2 separate regions of the Homo sapiens genome follow, and region 2 is linked to region 1. The links are contacts of gene promoters, found by promoter capture Hi-C in blood cells and fetal thymus (Javierre and others, 2016). All regions are on one chromosome and are shown on one strand. Each heading gives the region's core, a stretch centred on a gene start or on the middle of the fragment in contact. The rest is flanking DNA. Distances are from core to core; before and after follow the strand shown. Region 1 holds the start of FOS (Fos proto-oncogene, AP-1 transcription factor subunit). Region 2 holds the start of LINC02288 (long intergenic non-protein coding RNA 2288).

Region 1 (6,368 bases), core at 2,275-4,774:
TCATGAACTACACACATTTTGGTTTTATATGCTCAGACTTGTCCAGAGCATGAAATCCCTGCCCTGTTGGAAGGCAGCGCCGTGCTCACGGAGGCACACAAGCACCTGTCTCAAAGTCACCCTGACCTGCAGATCTGCAAATGGCAAAAATAATTTCACATGTTTGTTCTGATTTGTCTTCATTTTTAGGCTACCTTGTGTGAGCTCCACTTTTTAGAATGTGATTTTGCAGTCCTGAAATGGATACCATGAGCAGATTGAGATGTGAGAATATGTTAGAATGATCACAGGTTCGGATGTTAGTGGGGCAGGAGAGGGAGTCTGAGATTGTATTGGCCTATACTGTGGCTTCTGGTTGAGCACTTGGTTTGCCTGGATGATGCTCTGGCCTTACTCAATCTTTATCATTCCATTATCCAGAGGACAGAGGATCTGAGCCCCATCTCTGTATTGCAGTCACCTCCTCTGGGACCTGTTTCCAAGCCTTCTTCTGTGTTGCCTGGCACCCCTTTCTTACCTCTTTCAAACCACTTACTGCTACCCTGTAAGCTCGATTGACTTGTTGGTCTTCCTATGAGACTGGAATCTCTCTGAGGGTCGGGACAGGCCTACCCTCTTCATTACAGTGAGCACCAGCCTCCAGCCCAGTCAATAGTTTTGTTAAATAAATAATTGAACAAAATTATTTGTTAAATAATGGTTTGTCCTTTCCAGAGGATGGACTTAGTTTGTCCTTTCCAGAGGATGGATTTAGTAAGTCTCCAACTCTGGTCATAATGGTGCCAGAAGGAAAGAGTTAAGCTATCTGGAGGAAATAGGCTCACTCAAAGACCCTTCTTCTTTTTTTTTTTTTTAATTGGCAAAGGCAGGATAAGTGTATTTGAGATAAATCCTGGATATAAAATCTTGACACATCTTTTAGGTATTGGCCGAGATGCTTTGGACCTGAAAGGGAAGTAAATCAAATCATTCTAGGTTTTCTTTTCTTTTCTTTTGGAGACAGAATCTTGCTCTGTTGCCCAGGCTGGAGTGCGGTGGCACGATCTCGGCTCACAGGAACCTCTGCCTCCCGGGTTCAAGCAATTCTCCTGCCTCAGCCTCCTGAGTAGCTGGGACTACAGGCGTGCGCCACCACACCCGGCTGTTTTGTATTTTTAGCAGGGACAGAGTTTCACCATGATGGCCAAGCTGGTCTCGAACTCCTGGCCTCAAGTGATCCACCCGCCTCGGGCTCCCAAAGTGCAGGAATTACAGGAGTGAGCCACCGCACCCAGTCAGGTTTCCTGTTAAGTGGCCTGAGATCTAGTTGTGAATGGCAGTCATGGCCAGACTCAGGAATTCAAAGCTTGACCTATTTTGTCTGAAGCTAATATTAATAATAAGAGAGATGTATTTGGCTTCATAACCCCTTTCCCTCCCGTCCCCCTCTTTCTTTCTGTAATCAAGGATAGAATTAGAAGTACCGAAGGCCGCAGAATTGCTTTAGGATTCAGAGCAGCTCCAAGGAATCTGTGTTTACGTATTATGTGTGTTTTTCCGTTTCCCTCCCTTTTTATGAGTGAGAAAAAAAAGCGCCTAAATTCCCACCAACATAAACCAATGACATACAATGATGAAATTCTGTTTTCACCTCTGCCTGTGACAGGGAATGCAAAAATAGCAAGTGGCCCAGTTCCACGAATCCCCGCCTCCTGCCCTCCCCGCTCCTGCCGGGTTGGATCTCTAAGAATGGAGGTTAGCGCACAGCCTCGCGCGGGCCGCTCAGCCCCCGGACCCGGCGGATGATGTCAGGCGACGGGAGCGGCCGCGGCCGGGCCGGGGAGGCCGCGGCCCAGGGGAGCTGGGAGGGAGGGTGGCCTCGCCAGGCCGACGGCGCGCCCGGCCGCGCGGCGTTGCCTGGAGACGGCCCTGGCGGCGCTGTGTTGCTGTAAACAGCCGCTTCCCTGTTACTATCTATAGCAGGATCTCCTGGCTCCCGGGCGCGGCGGCTGGAGGCAGGTCTGCGGTCCGGCTCCCCGCGCGCCCCGAACTATCCGCCCGCCGGCCTCATCCTGCCTCGCCCCTCTCCAGGTGCCCACCGCGGGCCCCGACCCCCGGGCCCGAAGAGTGGAGAAGGGAAGACCGGGGCTGTGCGGGGACATGCGTCTTCGCGCCCTGGAGGTGGCCAGCGCGCTGGGGCTGAGCCCCGGCAGCGTGACCCCGGCTGTCCTACGCAGCAGGGCAGGAGATTGGGGGGCGTGGCACACTCTGGAGCACCTTGCCTCCCCAAAGCCCCGTGTTCCAGGACGTGGAGCCGCTCCTGGGGTCCCAGCAGTCGAGGTATTCCGCCCAGGCGCAGCTGGACACTGTCCTTCCAGCCCCCGTCCTCCACCCTCCAAGTCCGCGCTGGAAAATCACCCGCTGCGGGCTCCCGTAAGCACAGCTTCCTGGCGGGACCGAACCAGCCCTCAGCGCAGATTTGAGTTCCCCGCAGGAAGCACACCCCGCCTTGTCATCCCGAACTGACCACCCTGCCCACATAACCACACCTCGCACTCCCTACCCCTGGGGCCCAGCTCAGAACCGGGCAGACACCCCCTTCAAATGTCTTCGCACGTAGGTTTTGCACAGTGTTTATCTGCTGGTGTCTCAGGGATTTGACAGTTTCCTTAATATTCCCACACATGGCCGAGAAAAATAAATAAATAAATGCGCTGTCTTCTTTAAAAAAATAAATAAATAAAGTACCCAGTATCGTAAAGTAGGTTATCGTATTCTCTTATTTTGGATCCTCCACTTTCTGCTTCCAAACGCAGGAACAGTGCTAGTATTGCTCGAGCCCGAGGGCTGGAGGTTAGGGGATGAAGGTCTGCTTCCACGCTTTGCACTGAATTAGGGCTAGAATTGGGGATGGGGGTAGGGGCGCATTCCTTCGGGAGCCGAGGCTTAAGTCCTCGGGGTCCTGTACTCGATGCCGTTTCTCCTATCTCTGAGCCTCAGAACTGTCTTCAGTTTCCGTACAAGGGTAAAAAGGCGCTCTCTGCCCCATCCCCCCCGACCTCGGGAACAAGGGTCCGCATTGAACCAGGTGCGAATGTTCTCTCTCATTCTGCGCCGTTCCCGCCTCCCCTCCCCCAGCCGCGGCCCCCGCCTCCCCCCGCACTGCACCCTCGGTGTTGGCTGCAGCCCGCGAGCAGTTCCCGTCAATCCCTCCCCCCTTACACAGGATGTCCATATTAGGACATCTGCGTCAGCAGGTTTCCACGGCCTTTCCCTGTAGCCCTGGGGGGAGCCATCCCCGAAACCCCTCATCTTGGGGGGCCCACGAGACCTCTGAGACAGGAACTGCGAAATGCTCACGAGATTAGGACACGCGCCAAGGCGGGGGCAGGGAGCTGCGAGCGCTGGGGACGCAGCCGGGCGGCCGCAGAAGCGCCCAGGCCCGCGCGCCACCCCTCTGGCGCCACCGTGGTTGAGCCCGTGACGTTTACACTCATTCATAAAACGCTTGTTATAAAAGCAGTGGCTGCGGCGCCTCGTACTCCAACCGCATCTGCAGCGAGCATCTGAGAAGCCAAGACTGAGCCGGCGGCCGCGGCGCAGCGAACGAGCAGTGACCGTGCTCCTACCCAGCTCTGCTCCACAGCGCCCACCTGTCTCCGCCCCTCGGCCCCTCGCCCGGCTTTGCCTAACCGCCACGATGATGTTCTCGGGCTTCAACGCAGACTACGAGGCGTCATCCTCCCGCTGCAGCAGCGCGTCCCCGGCCGGGGATAGCCTCTCTTACTACCACTCACCCGCAGACTCCTTCTCCAGCATGGGCTCGCCTGTCAACGCGCAGGTAAGGCTGGCTTCCCGTCGCCGCGGGGCCGGGGGCTTGGGGTCGCGGAGGAGGAGACACCGGGCGGGACGCTCCAGTAGATGAGTAGGGGGCTCCCTTGTGCCTGGAGGGAGGCTGCCGTGGCCGGAGCGGTGCCGGCTCGGGGGCTCGGGACTTGCTCTGAGCGCACGCACGCTTGCCATAGTAAGAATTGGTTCCCCCTTCGGGAGGCAGGTTCGTTCTGAGCAACCTCTGGTCTGCACTCCAGGACGGATCTCTGACATTAGCTGGAGCAGACGTGTCCCAAGCACAAACTCGCTAACTAGAGCCTGGCTTCTCCGGGGAGGTGGCAGAAAGCGGCAATCCCCCCTCCCCCGGCAGCCTGGAGCACGGAGGAGGGATGAGGGAGGAGGGTGCAGCGGGCGGGTGTGTAAGGCAGTTTCATTGATAAAAAGCGAGTTCATTCTGGAGACTCCGGAGCGGCGCCTGCGTCAGCGCAGACGTCAGGGATATTTATAACAAACCCCCTTTCAAGCAAGTGATGCTGAAGGGATAACGGGAACGCAGCGGCAGGATGGAAGAGACAGGCACTGCGCTGCGGAATGCCTGGGAGGAAAAGGGGGAGACCTTTCATCCAGGATGAGGGACATTTAAGATGAAATGTCCGTGGCAGGATCGTTTCTCTTCACTGCTGCATGCGGCACTGGGAACTCGCCCCACCTGTGTCCGGAACCTGCTCGCTCACGTCGGCTTTCCCCTTCTGTTTTGTTCTAGGACTTCTGCACGGACCTGGCCGTCTCCAGTGCCAACTTCATTCCCACGGTCACTGCCATCTCGACCAGTCCGGACCTGCAGTGGCTGGTGCAGCCCGCCCTCGTCTCCTCCGTGGCCCCATCGCAGACCAGAGCCCCTCACCCTTTCGGAGTCCCCGCCCCCTCCGCTGGGGCTTACTCCAGGGCTGGCGTTGTGAAGACCATGACAGGAGGCCGAGCGCAGAGCATTGGCAGGAGGGGCAAGGTGGAACAGGTGAGGAACTCTAGCGTACTCTTCCTGGGAATGTGGGGGCTGGGTGGGAAGCAGCCCCGGAGATGCAGGAGCCCAGTACAGAGGATGAAGCCACTGATGGGGCTGGCTGCACATCCGTAACTGGGAGCCCTGGCTCCAAGCCCATTCCATCCCAACTCAGACTCTGAGTCTCACCCTAAGAAGTACTCTCATAGTTTCTTCCCTAAGTTTCTTACCGCATGCTTTCAGACTGGGCTCTTCTTTGTTCTCTTGCTGAGGATCTTATTTTAAATGCAAGTCACACCTAGTCTGCAACTGCAGGTCAGAAATGGTTTCACAGTGGGGTGCCAGGAAGCAGGGAAGCTGCAGGAGCCAGTTCTACTGGGGTGGGTGAATGGAGGTGATGGCAGACACTTTTACTGAATGTCGGTCTTTTTTTGTGATTATTCTAGTTATCTCCAGAAGAAGAAGAGAAAAGGAGAATCCGAAGGGAAAGGAATAAGATGGCTGCAGCCAAATGCCGCAACCGGAGGAGGGAGCTGACTGATACACTCCAAGCGGTAGGTACTCTGTGGGTTGCTCCTTTTTAAAACTTAAGGGGAAAGTTGGAGATTGAGCATAAGGGCCCTTGAGTAAGACTGTGTCTTATGCTTTCCTTTATCCCTCTGTATACAGGAGACAGACCAACTAGAAGATGAGAAGTCTGCTTTGCAGACCGAGATTGCCAACCTGCTGAAGGAGAAGGAAAAACTAGAGTTCATCCTGGCAGCTCACCGACCTGCCTGCAAGATCCCTGATGACCTGGGCTTCCCAGAAGAGATGTCTGTGGCTTCCCTTGATCTGACTGGGGGCCTGCCAGAGGTTGCCACCCCGGAGTCTGAGGAGGCCTTCACCCTGCCTCTCCTCAATGACCCTGAGCCCAAGCCCTCAGTGGAACCTGTCAAGAGCATCAGCAGCATGGAGCTGAAGACCGAGCCCTTTGATGACTTCCTGTTCCCAGCATCATCCAGGCCCAGTGGCTCTGAGACAGCCCGCTCCGTGCCAGACATGGACCTATCTGGGTCCTTCTATGCAGCAGACTGGGAGCCTCTGCACAGTGGCTCCCTGGGGATGGGGCCCATGGCCACAGAGCTGGAGCCCCTGTGCACTCCGGTGGTCACCTGTACTCCCAGCTGCACTGCTTACACGTCTTCCTTCGTCTTCACCTACCCCGAGGCTGACTCCTTCCCCAGCTGTGCAGCTGCCCACCGCAAGGGCAGCAGCAGCAATGAGCCTTCCTCTGACTCGCTCAGCTCACCCACGCTGCTGGCCCTGTGAGGGGGCAGGGAAGGGGAGGCAGCCGGCACCCACAAGTGCCACTGCCCGAGCTGGTGCATTACAGAGAGGAGAAACACATCTTCCCTAGAGGGTTCCTGTAGACCTAGGGAGGACCTTATCTGTGCGTGAAACACACCAGGCTGTGGGCCTCAAGGACTTGAAAGCATCCATGTGTGGACTCAAGTCCTTACCTCTTCCGGAGATGTAGCAAAACGCATGGAGTGTGTATTGTTCCCAGTGACACTTC
Region 2 (6,368 bases), core at 2,709-5,208, 1.8 Mb after region 1:
TGCTCCTTCCAAACTTGGCAGCCGTTCAAAGTGCTCTTTCATTTGAAATGCTGGAAGCCTGCCATGTGCAATGCAGATTTGCTGTGCCTGTGCGCAGAAGGAACTGATAAATGCCGTTGCAGTTGCCATGGGGACAGGAGGCTATCAGAATGGCCTTGTGATCCGCAGCCTCTCTGCGCGGCAGGCTCTCGTTCTCCCCCTCCCGCCCCTCCTCCCTCTAGTCAGTGAGATGGTGAAATAAATGTTCTGGAAAAAGGTTAACCCTCCCCGCTCTGGTTCCGAGGGTGAGAGGAGGTTAACCTCTAAGCACTTCCTTGGCCTTAAGTGCCAGCCCGGAGCACAGGTGTCAGCGCCGTCCTTGGGTGGGTCACCATCCTCCCGCTCTCCTCTTTCACACCCCCAGCTTTCTTCCTGCTCCCTGGGGGCTTTCACAAAGCGGTATTTTTAATAGAGGCTTTTCAGCAAGCTCAAGTGTAAGTCTTTGAGTCATCAAAACCCGGATGTAAACACAGCAGCCCTGCATTCTGCACAGTTTGCGTGTATTTTATCTTTTTAATAATATTTAGCTGGCAACTTAAAACTGCAAGGATGCCAGATATTTTAGCCAGCCACTTACATCATGCAGCATCCATCTTGGGGAGAGTGGTGGCGGGTCCTTTCCTTGTTCTCTTGCTCCCTGCCGCCTACCTGAGACCGCAGGAAATCTGGGTCTTTCTGAAGGCATCTTCTTGTGGTGTAGTCCCCTTGGAACCGCGGCCTTTAGAATGAACATGACATCACCTTGGGCAACAACGACAGAGGGTGTGTTCCTGTAGGAGACAAGACACGGGGAGATCCAAGGTGAAACAGATCTATCATTTACGCTGCGCCAATTTCAGGTGTGTGAGGGTGCACAGTCTGGATCATCAGCCCCCCATTTAGCACGAACTGCCGTTTGAAACACAGTCTGATTTAATGTACAGAAACAAAATAGCACATTCAGATTTGGTATATTTTCAGGCCTGTAATGCCAACACTCCGGGTGGCCTGTTTAATGGGGAAAAAATGAAATATTCCACTCCAGCCCAGGCCTATGGAAACCAAAGAGGTTTAGTGATTTATTTACATTGGGGGTAAAAACGGTGAGCAGTATTCCTTCTCGGCTCGCTACTTCCTGAAGGTTTCCTGAACCTAAACATTCGTTAACATCCCAGGAAGGGAACTTATTTTTCCTGTGGCTTTCAATATTTTCTGCTAAATATATTTCGGCACACTGTTTATCTTGGGCTTCAGCTTTCAGACCTTTATGCACTTTTAACACCTTGAGGCTGTTTCACTGAAAAATGGTGTATGTTAATTAAAGAGGACTTTATGTGCTGGGCATTAAGGCAGGGGGGATTTCTGTTTTGATCTGTCTGTATAATGAGGGGCTTCAGGATGAAACACAAGTCAGAGGCCTGTTAGCTTCGTGAAGCCCTTTTGACAAAGCGGGACCTTGAATGTGGGCCCTTGTATTCAAACACTTGAAGACCACAGAATGTTGAACTGAACGAAACATTTCTTCCTAAGTGCATGGTGAACATGGAGGCCAGGAGACGAGAAAGACTGAAAATGCCCCAAGTTCCTGGGGCTTAGCTGCAATTTCTTTGAACTTGACTGTCTCTGGGTGTCTGCTCGTGATTGTCACGGCAGCTCTGGCCAAGGCGATGCACTCTGTCTCGCTGGAATTTCCTGATTCCAAAGTAGCCCCTTCCAAATAAATAATCAACAAACGCCATCTGCTTCACCTTGCCAGCAGGCACAGAGCTGAAGGGTTAGCTAAAACCTACAATTTTTAGGAGCAGTAGGCTCTTGAGACATTTCAAGATAGGTTTCGACTTGGAATTAAACTAGAGTTAGAGGCAGAAATCAGGTGATTCAGAAAGCAACCCCCCCTCCCTCCCGCCAACTTCCCCAGACAGTCCAGGCAGCTGGGTTTTTGGCTCTCACAGCTGCTAAGCTTTGGCAAGCCAAAAGCATATTTCGTGGTGGTGATTCCTTTCCCAGGTTGACGGACATGTTTCTGTACTGAGCACAAGGCATGTTTCCTGACCGTGTGTGAATCAGAGGCTGCATTTTTATCCAGGGCTTCTGGTGACAGTTTTAAGCTGGATGAACAAAGCAGACCCTGACATGTCCCTGTCATCAAGGTCAAGAGATACAGAATCTATCCTAAATGTTCGCCACCTCTAGCCCAGATGTATTATATTTATTTATTTTTGTTTTGTTTTGTTTTTTGAGGCGGTGTCTTCCTCTGTCGCCCAGGCTGGAGTGCAGTGGGGCAGTCTCAGCTCACTGCAACCTCCGCCTCCCGGGTTCAAGCAATTCTCTTGCCTCAGCCTCCCGAGTAGCTGGGATTACAGGCACGTGCTATCATGCCTGGCTACTTTTTTTGTATTTTTAGTAGAGACAGGGTTTTGCCATGTTGGCCGGGCTGGTCTCGAACTCCTGACCTCAGGCGATCTGCCCTCCTCAGCTTCCCAAAGTTTCTGGGATTACAGGCATGAGCCACCACACCCGGCTATTTTTTTTTTAATCATGCCAAGAGCAGCCACCACCCCACAAGTCAATGGATGCCCATGTTCATGTGTCAGATGTTACCCTTCTCTCTCTCAGTGTTTTTGTAGTGTTTGCTTCTTTGTTGGCTTTGGTGAGAAGATTTACAAAAGCCATTTTGGACCCTTGAGTGCCTTTCCAGATCGAGGCAAGCTCCAAGATTCCAAACAGCCTTGACCTCGTCTGTGTCGCCCCATTATAGCAGGGATGATAACCGGAGGGGAGTCCTTGGTGTAGCCCCTCCATACCAGGGCCCGGAGAGCCAGCTTCCCAGAAATCCATGGATTAGGAAACTCTGTCGTGGGCCAGTTCAGGAGCGGCAGGGGGAACAACTCCCTTTTGTTTTGTTGTCTAGCATGTGACCAGAATGCTGCCAGCTAATTTTAACCCCACCAAAGTACTGCTGGGAAAAAAAAAAAAAAAACTATCTTGCATCTGGAGAGAGAAATGCTGTGGGCTGGATAAAAGCTTTTCAGCCTGTGTTCCTTCCTGTTTCAGTTTCCAAACTTGCATTATCGGTAACCTGAAAAATGATGAGTTTCACCAAATTCCTGGATGTTGTGCAAGAGGACAATGAGTCTATTTTGGGTGGTGTGAGTGTGTCTGGCATAGACACTGGGAACCATTGTTTTCAGGAGGGAGAATGTTTTGGGGTTTCCTGGTGCTTTCCTTATAGGGTCTCAAAGCCCCAAGGGGTACTGCTGGGGGGAGAAACCCTCCATGGCAACCATGGAGGCTGTGCTCTGCAAAAGACCTGGCTGAGAATTGGGTGGTTAGGCCAGTGGGTGGGGGTGAGGGGTGACGTGGCAGTGGTGGCTCCAGAGGTGTTAAAAGGTGCTCTGTAGGGAGTGTTTGAGGTAGAACGACTGGAGCAGGAAGAAGTGGGGAGAGAGAGATGCTTTCACTGTGGCTGGGCGGCCCCCTGGGACACAGGGCACCTCTTCTACTAATTCTCCATATCTGCTTTTAGCACCATGCGTGAATGGAGGATTATATGGAGTTCCCCACCCTGGATACTGGATTCTCAAAGCATACCTGTGGTGGTTCATTGTTGCTGTCTGGCTGGATGGCAGTTGTTGCTAGTGGAAAAGTCCAGAATCGCAAGACCCAGGAAATGAAATGGTTTGGGTGAGACAGCGTGTAGCTAGGCAGGTGCCGCTGACTGTTCTAGAACTAGATAGTAAGGTGGACTGCCGTTAACCTGAGTGTCCACAACGCAGTCTCGGAAGATAAGGTCAACACTGCAGCACTTGCTGCAACCTCAACCAGGAGAGCTTGGTGGCAGTTGTTCTGACAGCTGCAGAGGGCCTCAGCTGCCTAAAAAGCCATTTGCTCAGCCCTGCCCTGTCTGGCCAACTTCTGTGTATTTCAAGGATCCTCATGGGTCTCTGTGGCCCCCCTCTTTTCTGAGTCCTCAGGCAGACACCATCTTCGGAAGGGCAGGGAACCCCATGTTCTGCTTCTAACTGGCTGCTATAACCTGCCAGCAGTAGTCAAGATCAGTTGGCAAATCCCTAAATTAAGGTTCTGTTTATTTTGTTGTTTCAAAGGCTTGTTTTGAGCAAGATGTTGTGCTTTAATTAAAAAGATGAGAGATCATGAGTAAGTGAAAATATTTTTGAATCTTCACAAATAGGTTTGAATTTCATTTCTTGCGATTCACAGTAGGGGGTCAAGCTGATCAGCACTTTTATCTGTGAGACCATCTAGAAGGTCTTCTGTAAGTTAACAGCTGACTCTTCTGCACAATAGAATTGTAAAGGGAATCCTCTGTCAAGCATTTGTTCCTTGCTGCTTCTCTGTTTACAGATTTTAGCCAGCCTTCAGCTGTCATTAGGGCATATTCCTCATTTACCTTTCTAGCCAGAGGATTCCTAAATGTTTCATAATAGCTCCACAGCTGGAATGCAGCTGCTTGGGGTGGAGCAAACATAACTCCCTATAGGTCAGCGGGTGAGGGAGGGCAGGGAATCTTGGAAGGTTGGGAAAGTCCTTCTAAAGCCAGAGCTCAGGAATGAGTGGGGCCACTGGTGTGAAGACTTTCCAGATGGGGGAAGGAAGGGTTCATTTTCTGCCCTCTGGGTAGATTCCAAAAAATCGCTTTGGGGAGGCCAACTATTTTGAAATTGCCTTTAAAGAAGACAACACAAATGTTTAAACTGACCTGGAAAAGCCTTTCTTTTTCCTTTCCCTACAATCCTAGTCTGTTCCCTTGCACATTAATCAACAGAATTGTGTGCCCACGATTCTCCCCTCCCTCACCTCTTTTATTATTATTATCTTTGGTTCAGGAAACTTTTGGAAGCTTTCCCAGGCTGGAGCTATAGAATGATTCCAGGAAAATGCATAGGAGTTTCTGAGTTTTCTCTGGAGGGAGCTGAACATGTTTTTCAGAGAGACGAAGCTAGGGGCAACCAGGTCTTGTGCAAGAATGCAGCCACAAAAGAGGGCAGACAGTGCTAAAAAGATCTGTGGACATCCAAAAGTTCTGAAAGCAAGGTGTGGCTTAGTGAGCCTGCCTGTTCCCCACCCCTTCAGTGTTTTATTATGGCAGCTGCCATGATGTCAGTCCGTGAGCCCAAGCACCCCATCTCAGGGAGATATGCTGAGAACAGCTGGGTGCTGGGGTTTGGACTCTCAAGTTAGCAGCACTTGTAGTTTCTGCCAAAAGAACACTCCAAGATATAGATGGAAAAGTGCAGGGAGTCAATACTTACCCAGCAGGCAGGGGCCCCACCCAGACATGGAATGCAATGGACAAAAAAGTGTCCTTGGGCTATTGCTGCCAAGGGTGGTGCCAGCCTTCAGCCTGTGCCAGCGCAGATGCTTTTGAGCCCAGAAAACACACACAGAACTGCATGCACGCATATATCAGAAACATCTGTCTATACACAAAACCAGAAAGCTACTGGGGAGGTGTGCATAGATGAGGTACAAGAGCAAGGGGGACCTGCAGGACCCATCACTGATAGATGTGGCTTTTTTTTTTTTTTTTGAAACAGGGTGTTGCTCTGTCGCCCAAGCTGGAGTGCAGTGGCATGATCTGGCTCACTGCAATCTCCACCTCCTGGGCTTAAGTGATACTCCTGTTTCAGCCTCCCGAGTAGTTGGGATTACAGGCGCACGCCACCATGCCTGGCTAATTTTTGTATTTTTAGTAAAGATGGGGTTTCACCATTGGGCCAGGCTGGTCTCAAACTTCTGACCTCAGGTGATCTGCTCACCTTGGTCTCCCAAAGTACTGGGATTACAGGCGTGAGCCATTGCACCTGGCCAGATGTGACTCTTGAAAGCAAAGGCAGCTTATATTTCCTGGAAATACACTTCATTCAGGTTGGTTCACGGGCAAAGGAGACAGAAGTTGCTCCTTAAGGAGAATGCCCTGGGCGAGGGCAGAGCTGCCAGCCACTCTGCAATGGTAGGGCTGCTGCACCCACTGTGGCCAGGAGAACCTCAGGAGAGGTGAAACAATCAGAGGGTTGTGGTGATAGAAACTAGAGGACACAGCTCCCAGCTCTCCTCGCCCCGTTAGTTTGAAGACTGTTACCAGCAGCACTGTCGTGGTTCTGGCAGTAAAATCTCCTTCCTTTCTACCCAGGGACATACCGACTCCGGAAAGCATCTTTCCTACAGCAGGTTGGGAAGGTGCTTAACAGCCCAGACTTTAGGATATTAATAGCAATGATGATAGGCAAGGCTGACATTTATTGGGCACCTCTTATGTGTTGGACATTGTGCTGGCTGTTTCAATGCATTATCTCTTCTAATCCACACTTAATGAAGTGGATTCAGTT

The links. Contacts are between HindIII fragments. The CHiCAGO score rates a contact against its expected background, and 5 or more counts as called.
Region 2: a contact is called between a fragment that was not itself captured here and the fragment with the promoter of FOS in region 1, in 1 of 17 cell types (M0 macrophages). The highest score is 9.5, in M0 macrophages.

What each region holds. Positions count from the first base shown.
Region 1 is chr14:75,275,304-75,281,671 of GRCh38, forward strand. It overlaps FOS (Fos proto-oncogene, AP-1 transcription factor subunit), which reads left to right and starts at 3,525. Exons shown (of 4, transcript NM_005252.4): 1 at 3,525-3,820; 2 at 4,574-4,825; 3 at 5,257-5,364; 4 at 5,480-6,368. The coding sequence starts at 3,680. The coding sequence ends at 6,121. RefSeq lists silencers at 1,689-2,198, 2,927-3,016, 3,367-3,426 and enhancers at 3,515-4,442, 3,797-3,856, 4,443-5,368, 5,395-5,954, 5,955-6,368. The HindIII fragment of the contact is 6,704 bases long and covers 1,344-6,368 here.
Region 2 is chr14:77,040,438-77,046,805 of GRCh38, forward strand. LINC02288 (long intergenic non-protein coding RNA 2288) reads left to right here and starts at 612. Exons shown (of 4, transcript NR_110554.1): 1 at 612-840. RefSeq lists enhancers at 84-815, 91-4,573, 225-314, 4,120-4,630. The HindIII fragment of the contact is 1,837 bases long and covers 3,041-4,877 here.